Regions from separate parts of the Homo sapiens genome. Here regions 1 and 2 are each linked to region 3. The links are contacts of gene promoters, found by promoter capture Hi-C in human tissues and cell types (Jung and others, 2019). All regions are on one chromosome and are shown on one strand. Each heading gives the region's core, a stretch centred on a gene start or on the middle of the fragment in contact. The rest is flanking DNA. Distances are from core to core; before and after follow the strand shown. Region 1 overlaps UNKL (unk like zinc finger). Region 2 holds the start of ATP6V0C (ATPase H+ transporting V0 subunit c). Region 3 holds the start of NDUFB10 (NADH:ubiquinone oxidoreductase subunit B10).

Region 1 (3,258 bases), core at 389-2,888, 580 kb after region 3:
GCGGGGCAGCTCTGGGGCTTTCTGCCTGAAGACCTCTGGCCCCCGCTGCCCGCGCCCACTTGCCCGCCCAGCTCGTAGCCAGGAGCCGCGGGGACCGGGTGCGCCCGAGTCGGGGGGAAGGTTGGGGGAGGGCAGCGCGGGGGGCGTGGCCAGTGCGACGGGGGCGGGGCCGAGTCACGTTGCGGGGCGGGGCCAGCGCGGAGGGGGCGGGGCGCGGGCCGGGTTTGAATCCCCGGCGGCGGCGCGGGGCGGCCGCGGACCGTGAGTCAGCATTGGCGGCGGCCCCAGCGCGTGGCAGCCGTGCGCCGCCAAGGTGCGGGTCTCGTTACTCGGCGGTCAGGAGCGGGCCCTCCCTTAGGTGCGCCCCCCGCCAGGTGCGTCCCCCGCGTCACGGAGCCGGGTGTGACAGCCGCGGGGTGGGCCCGGGCTTCTCAGAGGCCCGGAGCGAGGCGAAGGCGTCGCCTTCTCGGAACCTGCCTCTGCCGGGCGCTCGCCGCTTCCCAGCGCGGGCTCGGGCCGCCTGCGTCCCCTAGCTAGGCGGGGTCGGTGCCCCGAGGGAGGGCAGGGGAGCGGGGCAGGAGAGCGGAGCGGAGCGGGGCAGGAGAGGGCAGGGGAACGGGGCGGGGGAGGGCCGACCCCTGCGTCCTGGCCTGGCCCGCCTGCACTCAGCCCGCGTGGTACGGGAATTTCCCTGGCGTCGGCGGCTCCCCCGCCCTGTCCTGAGTTCCGAGCAGTCTGTAGCTTGTCCTCGCGTGTCCCTGACCCCGGGGGACCGCGGCGCCTTGAATGTGCTGTGTCACGGCAGAGCCGGGCTGTGTCGCGGTGACTCAGCGGGGCCGGTGGTTTCCTAACGCCCGGGGCTGAGGCAGCCTGGCCTGACCCAGCTGTACTCGCTTAGGTGACCAGCCTCACCTAGATTTTGCCTCTGCACAAGGGTCAGCTCTTTCTTTGAGAATGTTTCAGAAGATCTGGGTCTAACCTTGAAACAGTGAGGTGAGGTGGGGGAGAAGCTGCGGGTGAGAAAGTGGGCCAGGACGGTGCAGCAGCCGTCTCCCCCCTTGATTTCTGGGAGTGAGCCCTAGATAGCACCCTAGGGGTGGTGGAGCCTCCAGGACCCTCTCCGGTGCTCTCTTTGGATGAGGGGCACTTGGCTTTGAAGCGGGGCCGGAGTCTCTCGGGGGCACCCACACGCTCCCTGAACGTCCCCTCTCCAGGCAGCTTCCCGGGCTTCAGCACAGGTGACTTGGCTGAGGTAGGTGGTGGCTGACGCCCTCTGAGTTGAGTGCGAGCCGTAGTTTGTCGGGTGAGCATTGAAGGCAGCTTAGCCCCTCCACATGCTGCGCACTCTGCAGCTGGTGGGTGAAGCTTCTGCCGACTTAGCACGGAGCCTGGTGGGATCACCCCACTCCAAGGGGAGAAAAGGCGCCTCCGTTCCTGTCCCCCAACTTCTTTGCGTCTTTGATTTTCATGAGGAGTTTCTGGATCTCTGCCAGGTGTGAGGGGCGGTGAGCTCTGAAGGGGCTGCCATATCCTGATCCTGGGACTTGGGTGCAGAGGGCAGGTCCAGGTTCCCGAGCCTGGCTGACCTGACTATGGGCAAACCGCTTGGCCCTGCCCGTCATCAAGCCCCCGTATGGGAGCATGAGGGGGCTGTGGGCAGGCCTGCGGGTTGGGGGGTCGGTGCCTGTCCTCAGTGAGTCTGTCCAGGGCCCTGACATGGTTCAGGCTGACACCTGCAAGGATGTAGTGGGGGGCATTCCATGCAGGGCTTGGAGGCCGAGCAGCTTTCTGGGGACTGGTGTGGCTGATCTTACTGAATGGAAGGCACAGCCAGGCTGAGCCTGCAGTGGCACAGCAGGTTAGGAGCCCGGCAAAGGACCCATTGGGAAGCGGTGACCGGCACGCGCAAGGGCACAAGCTTCCTCCTTTCTTGCAGGTCAGGATTCAGGATGCAATGAGGCTTTTCTTGGTAGGAAGGTTACTATTGCAATGCATGAAGGCAGGCTGGGCATGGGCCTCAGGGGGTGTGGGTTGAGCGAGCAGCCCATGAGGAAGGGATCCTGCAGTGCCAGCTTCCAGCAGCCCCTGCACACGTGGTGTCTGGGAAGGGCCTGCAGTGGGGCCATGGGAACAAGCAAGGGATCCTTTGCCAGGGAGGAGGAAGGGCTTTGGCCCCTGCTGGACATCTGGGCTCGGGGCTGCAGAGCCACTGTGTTGGGCGGGTCCAGGCCACAGGAGAGGCTGCCAGCCCTCAGGGAGGAGGGTGGGCCTGGGAGGGAAGCTGGTGCCTATGACAAGAGGCAGTTCAGGGCACAGGCGCAGGGCTGGAGGGAAGGGCCCGGGGCAGCGGTGGGCAGAGTGAGTGGTGAGGAGGCCCCAGAAAACAGCTGCAGGGGGAGTGGAGGCAGAGGGGGGGTCTCCTTTCTGAGGGAGGACTCAGGGAGGGAGGGCTGTGCACAGCAGGGGCCAGATCTGTTGATACAGAGTCCTGAGGGGCCTGGGGAGGACGGGCAGGACCAACAGGGGCATCTGCAGGTGGGCCCCCATGTCCTGGGTTGAATTGTGTCCCCTGAAAGTTGCATTTGAGGCTGGGCATGGTGGCTTGCACCTGTAATCCCAGCACTTTGGGAGATGAGGCAAGCAGATCACCTGAGGTGGGGAGTTCATGACCAGCCTGACCAACATAGAGAAAACCTGTCTCTACTAAAAATGCAAAATTAGCTGGGGGTGGTGGAGGGCACCTGTAGTCCCAGCTGCTCAGGAGGCTGAGGCAGGAGAATAGCTTGAACCTGGGAGGCGGAGGTTGCAGTGAGCTGAGATCGCGCCATTGCACTCCAGCCTGGGTGACAGAGCAAGACTCTATCTCGGTTGGGGGGGCTGGGTGTGGCGGGGGAAGATGCACCTGAACCCCAGGCGTCGCACCTAGGTACGTGGCGTTGCAGGGAAACACAGCAGGTCCTCTTATCCCAGGGTTCGCTGTCCACTGCCTCATTTGCTGGTGCGAGGTCTGGGTTCAGGACAGCAGTGTACAGCATTTGCGCAGGTAACTTTTATTACTGTGCGGTGCTGAAATCTATGTTACCAGTTAATCTTGTTAATCTCTTACTGGGCCTGACGTGCAAATGAGGACGTTCGTATAGGAAAAAGCTTGGTATATAGGGGTTCCGTGCTATCCGCAGCATCAGGCGTCCATGGGGGGGTCTTGGAATGTATCCCCCTGCTACAGATCGCAGGGTGCTACTGCAGGGTCCTCATAAC
Region 2 (3,362 bases), core at 212-2,711, 550 kb before region 3:
TGTTTGGAGTTCAAACCCTCCACATATCTGCACTAGGAGCCTCCCCAGGCCACCAGGCAGGGTGGGGCAGGGCACGGTCATCAAAGCTAAAACCAGACCTAACCACGGAGGCGGAAATCAGACCAGGCCAGGCCAGTCCACGGAGGCTGAGACTGGGCCAGAACTTAACTCGTCGGACCCACATTCCTGGGCCTAGCCCTAGCCCAAGTGCCATTCTCCCAGGGAGACCAATTGTCACTAAATTGGACGCCCAGGACCTGTCAAGGCCCAATTTCAAAAGCAGGGTGCCACCAAGAACCCTAGAAGGCCCCTTCTCCAAGCCCAGGGAAGCCCCTCCCAACTTCAGGCCTCAGGGAGGGAAAGGAAGGTCATTCATTCACCCCTCCATTCATTAGGACCACAACTGGAAGCCTCAGTCCTGAGGGCAACGACTGGATCCCATAAACTCGGACACCCATGCCACCCTCTCACCCACCTCAGAGCACAGACCCTCTGCAAGCTACACAGCCCCGCCAGCGCCGATGCTGCTGTCTCCCCGCTCCCTCCACTTCCACACACTCCCACCCGGGTCTCCGCGGGCTCTCCGAACCAAGCCCTCAGCCCAGCTTTCCCAAACAGCCCACACAGCGACACGGGTATTGGGCAACTGTAACCAGCTCCAACCGGAAGTACCTGCCTGTGGGTGAGACCCACCTGACCCTCGGGGCCGGCCGCCATAAGGGCGAGGGCTGAGGACCTCCCGTGGGGGACATGGGCTCCCCACCAGCCGGAAAGCTCCAGCGACCGGCTGGGCGTTCCTGGGCCGGACCCGCGCCGCCGCCCGCGCACTGGGGCCTTCGAGGTGTGATGTCACCTGCCCGCAGAATCGGCCCCCCTCGCGCCGCCCCCCTCGCGCCCCCACCCCAGCCTCCCTCTCGCCGCTCCCGGGGCTAATATGGCAGCGGCGCCGCCGCCCCACCCCCGCAACCGCACGACCCGGCTGGCAGGGCCGCCGGCCCGGACCCCCGAGACTCACACCCCGGCCAGGCCCGCACGCCCTGCGCCCCGGACCCCCGGCGGCTCCCCGCAGCCCTCGGGGCGCCGACCCCCGCCCGCTGTCACACGAGGCCCGGGCGCCCCCGACAGCTCGGGATTACGTCAGAGTGACGTCACACACCGGACCCCGGCGAGCTGCGGGCATGAGCAACGCGCGCGCCCCCGCCCCCGAGTCCCTCCCGCCGCCGCGCTCACCGCTGAAGACCATGGCGGCCGAGGCGCCCATGACGGCGAAAAACGAAGCATACTCGGGGCCGCTCTTGGACTCGGACATGTCTGCGGGTGGGGAGGGGGCAAGCTCTGCGGGCCGAGGCGGTGGCGGAGGCGGGGGCGAGGACGGGCCGGGCACGAAGGTTTGCGGGCGGGCGGCGGCGAAGGCGATCCGGCCCGTCAGCCGCTGCGCTCTAAATACCAGCACCGCAGAACAAAATGGCGGCCGCGGCCGCGTCACATGACCTGGGCCCCGCCCCTGCGAGCCGTACCACTTCGCACCGTGGGGGAGACGCGTCCCCGGGACGCCCGGCCGGCCCGTTGACCTCCCCCGGGCTGTGCCGCCCGCCCAGCGACCCGGCCCCGGCGCCCGGCCCCGCCCTGCCTCGGCCTCCGCGGGTGTTTCCGGGCGCCGCCGGCCTCTGGATCTCCGCAGCGTTGGACCGGTCTCGCGCCGGGGCGGGGCGGTGTGGTGTGTGCTTCATTAGCATACGGGGCGGGGCCTCGGACGCCCCGCCTCCTCTGCGGCTGCGCGTCGTCTGCAGGTGTTGGGTTCCCGGCGACGCTTTTCTTTGTACCCCTGGCGTGAAGCTGCAGGCCGTGGTTTCGCGGCCTTGCCCCCAAGACGGGGCCTCACCCCTCCGGGCGCTGGTCTTCCAGGATCTCCCTACCAATCCTGGGCGAGCTAAGGGTCCCAGCAGATGTGCGGCGCGCGGGCCTCCTCTGCCACAGCGTCCGGAAAAGCCCCCAGCCCACACCTGTGAAGTCCCAGCCCGTGGCTGCGGTCACCTCCCTCCACCCTGTCCCCAGTCTCCTCCAGACCCAGACCTACTGCCTCTGACCCAGCAGTTGGTGACTTCACCTCTCGCTTCGGAGAAAAAGGACCCCCTCCCCGCACCTGTCTCTGCCTTTGCATCAGGGACCCAAACATTAGTGGGGTGTGTCTCTGCCCCTCAAGATGTAGGCATGACTGGTGGAAGCCCTGTCGGAACTGCGACCTCTGGAGGCCCCCCGGGCTCTGCACGTTCTGGCGTCCTGGTCCTCCCACCTGTCCTTGCAGCCACCCACTCACGCAAAGCCTGCACCTTCAGGGCCATCTTTCTGTCTTTCTGGAGCAGTTGGAGCGGTTCCCGCAGCCGTGAAAGCAGCCCAGCCAGGGCTGGCGCTGCCCTACTGATCCTGTGTGGCAGTCCCTGGCACCCCCTCTGCCTGATCTCCATTCCCCCTTTCAGGGGCCCTGGGCAGCTGCCACCAGGCCTGAGTGTCCTTTGAGCTCTAAGGCCTCATCCTGGGTTAGAGCTCTCCCTGAGTAGCCTGGATGCTGGCTCATCACCTTCTCTATGTAGGCAATGGGGTCATGGCCCCTGGTCTGGCCCTCCTGCTGGACTCAGCCCCACCTTCCCCAGCAGGAGCCTCCCTCAAGCCCCTTCCCCAGGCTAGCCTGGGTCTGCCACTCTTGGAACTTGCAGCCCGTGAAAGTCCCTAAGTCTGTCCTGGTTCAAAGGAGAGGAGGCAACAGATACGGCCAGAGGCCCTTTCTGCTCCTCCCTCTTTCTTGCCCGGCCCTTGTTTCTGAGAAGACGAATCTTCACTCTGTCTCCACCTCCTCACCTGCCCTTCCCTCTCCAGCTCCTTGCCCTTGCCAAGGTCACTGGTGACCGCCATTTCTCTAAGCAGAAGGACATCTGTCAGGCTGTCCAAGTGGACCTCTGTGCTGCGTGGCCTGCCACCCTCTCCACACACTCTCCTCTCTCCTGCGGACTTCCTAAATCTCAGACGCCCTCATTCTTCCTGGAGTCACAAGGCCCTGTAGCCCCAATTTTGCTGCAGGTCCTGGCATACCCAGGGCTACCCCTAGCTCTGCCCTTCCCCTGCTTGATCCCATCCTTTCCCTGGCTTTGTCCCCCATCTTACGCCGTCTTGTCCCTCACCTGCACCATTCCAGCCCCGACCGCCCTCTGAGTGAGAGCAACACCAGTGCCTGCCCCCATAACTCCAAGCCCTCCAGGAAAGCCTAGGCCAGGAAGGCTGTGCCTGGGGCCGAATTCAGACCAAGGAAAGGTGGCGCAGAGCAGCCCACCATGGAGAAACAGCACAGTCCAAGCTCAGGGGTGGGC
Region 3 (2,548 bases), core at 1-2,500:
GGCTCCAACAGGGAGCCTCCAGCAAGCAGAACTTACCACCTTACGGCCTCAGCTTCCTCACTGGGAAATGAACGAGCTAAAAGGAGAGCTCGAACATCCAGACACATAGGACAGACATGCTCTACAACTGCTACAAAAGAGAGGGAGCTGGGTCCGCTGTTGCACGGTTTCCAGATCTTTGGGGGTTTGATTTGGAGACTTCACCCTCTTACGGAAGAACCACCAGAGCATGCTATGCACCCCAAGTGTTCAAAAAGAACTGAACCAGGCTGGACACGGTGGCTCAGGCCTGTAATCCCAGCACCTGGGGGCCAAGGTGGGAGGATCACCTGAGGTCAGGAGTTCGAGACCAGCCTGGCCAACATGGTGAAACCCCGTGTCTACTAAAAATATAAAAATTAGCTGGGCGTGGTGGTGGTGCGCCTGTAATCCTAGTACTGGGGAGGCTGAGGCAGGAGAATCGCTTGAACCCGGGGTGGGGCAGAGGTTGCAGTGAGCCGAGATCGCGCCACTGCACTCCAGCCTGGGCAACAGAGTGAGACTGTCTCAGGAAAAAAAAAAACAACAAAAACTGAACTGGGCATTTTCCCGGTTCGTTCCAGAGATGCTGAATTTGGGCATCTCGGCCATCACCCCGACACTTGGTCATCCGGCAGAGAGACATTTGAGAGAGGCCTGAGGCCAGCGGTGCAGTGGAGGGGTGCCCGGGGCGGCGGGGGGCGGAGAGCAGTGCGGGGTCCTGGGGCAGTGGGCGCTGGGTGCGGCAGGGAGGGAAGAGTCCTGGGAAGAAGCGGGGCATCCCGGGGTGCAGGGGAGAGTAAGGGATCCTGGGAGGTGAGGTCCGGGGTGCAGTGGGAGGCCAAAGGAGGCGACGGAGCTCGGAGGTCTCCGGGGGTGGGGAGTTGTCCCCGGGGTGCAGCGGGGGGCGGTCTCAGGCAGACGGGACCCCGGAGGCATTGGAGGATCCAGGCAGGGTGTGGGATCCAGGGGTCCCCAGAGGCCGGCGAGGGAGCCCCGGGCTGGGGCTTCGTACCTCTCACGAGGGTCACGGGTCGGTCCACGATGAGGTCGAACGCTTTCATCATGTAGACGATGGGATTGGGCTGCACCGGCGTGCGGCGCGGGGGCTCAGGGTACACATCCTTGTCCCAGCTGTCCGGCATGGCGGCGGCGGGCGCGGACTCCGCTCCCGGACGCGCTGCCCTGGCCTCTACCTCCGTCCGGGTCCCGCGGCCTAGGTCGCCCGCTACAGAGGACGCCGAGGGCGGCTGCGTCTGCGCGCTGGCGCCGCGATGCACCATGGGACTTGTAGTTCCCCGGCTCCGCCGGGCGCGGCCGGGACCCGCCTCGCCGCAGGGCGCCCCCGCGTGGGGCCTCCGTTCTCGGTCTGTGCCGAGCGCCTACGCGGTGCTGGTCGCTGGTCTGGGCGCCTGGGAAGCAGCCGCGAACCGGACAGATTCCTGCTTACGATGAAAGAAACAGACAAAAGGCAACTGACATAAGGAATAGGAGGGGGTCATTCGGTTCCCACTGCGCGCCAGGCACTGTGCTGAGTGCAGCAGGGAATAAGATAAACTGTGATGGAGAACACAGGCCGTTAGAGCGCACACGACAAAGTGAACAAATAGCACGCGATTCCAAACACCCTACTCCTCCAGGAAGCTTTCCTGGATTGCCTAGTCCCTACAGACTTCTCTGGGCCCCGCTCTCTACAAGGGCCCCTCATGGACTGGCTGGTGCCAGTTAACTTGGGAGCCTGTCTGGGGGAGGGCAGGGAGCAGACCAGGAGGCAGGGCTTGCCCTTAGGCGGCTCATAGGGAGAAGGCACCTACCCTGGGCACAGGGCCCTCTGGCCGGCTTTGATGGTTCCATCCTGGCCCTGGGGCACTCTGGTGCTTCTAGGCAGCTCCACTGAGCAGGGTCCTGCTGGCCACATCTTCAGTCTCCACACCTGGCACGGCCCCTGGCTGCTATCCAGGGGGGACACTGGTCATGTCCTGTCCTGAGGTTGAGGCCAGCGACACAGAACCATCAACCCTACAGACAAACAGTGAGAGGTGACAGCGTGCTGGCAGTCCTCAGAGCCCTCGCTCGCTCTCGGCGCCTCCTCTGCCTGGGCTCCCACTTTGGCGGCACTTGAGGAGCCCCTTTCTGGGCTGGCCAAGGCCAGAGCGGGCTCCCTCAGCTTGCGGGGAGGTGTGGAGGGAGAGGCGCAGGCGGGAACCGGGGCTGCGCGCGGTGCTTTGCGGGCCAGCGCGAATTCCAGGTGGGTGTGGGCTCGGCGGGCCCCGCACTCGGAGAGCCTGGCCGGCCCTGCCGGCCCTGGGCAATGAGGGGCTTAGCACCCGGGCCAGCGGCTGCGGAGGGTGTGCTGGGTCCCCCAGCAGGCCGGCCCACCGGCGCTGCGCTCGATTTCTCTCGCCAGGCCTTAGCTGCCTCCCCGCGGGGCAGGGCTCGGGACCTACAGCCCGCCATGCCTGAGCCTCCCCCACTCCGTGGGCTCCTGTGCGGCCCGAACCTCCCCGACGAGCGCCGCCCCCTGCTCCAG

What was found. Contacts are between HindIII fragments. The study calls those that stand out against the background at their distance.
Region 1: a contact is called between a fragment that was not itself captured here and the fragment with the promoter of NDUFB10 in region 3, in 1 of the 25 tissues and cell types used here (lymphoblastoid cells).
Region 2: the fragment with the promoter of ATP6V0C here is called in contact with the fragment with the promoter of NDUFB10 in region 3 in 1 of the 25 tissues and cell types used here (dorsolateral prefrontal cortex).

What each region holds. Positions count from the first base shown.
Region 1 is chr16:1,376,649-1,379,906 of GRCh38, reverse strand. The region is part of intron 10 of UNKL (unk like zinc finger); the gene reads left to right. Among named protein-coding and RNA genes, the nearest start is that of GNPTG, 26 kb to the right of the region's middle. RefSeq lists silencers at 135-274, 305-384, 425-474, 545-614. The HindIII fragment of the contact is 4,164 bases long and covers 1-3,258 here.
Region 2 is chr16:2,512,051-2,515,412 of GRCh38, reverse strand. It overlaps ATP6V0C (ATPase H+ transporting V0 subunit c), which reads right to left and starts at 1,461. Exons shown (of 3, transcript NM_001694.4): 1 at 1,231-1,461. The coding sequence starts at 1,309. RefSeq lists silencers at 706-845, 1,266-1,745 and an enhancer at 2,651-2,945. The HindIII fragment of the contact is 15,008 bases long and covers 1-3,362 here.
Region 3 is chr16:1,958,240-1,960,787 of GRCh38, reverse strand. It overlaps NDUFB10 (NADH:ubiquinone oxidoreductase subunit B10), which reads right to left and starts at 1,250. Exons shown (of 4, transcript NM_004548.3): 1 at 1,034-1,250. The coding sequence starts at 1,163. RefSeq lists silencers at 621-730, 1,161-1,470 and an enhancer at 2,193-2,548. The HindIII fragment of the contact is 2,906 bases long and covers 1-2,283 here.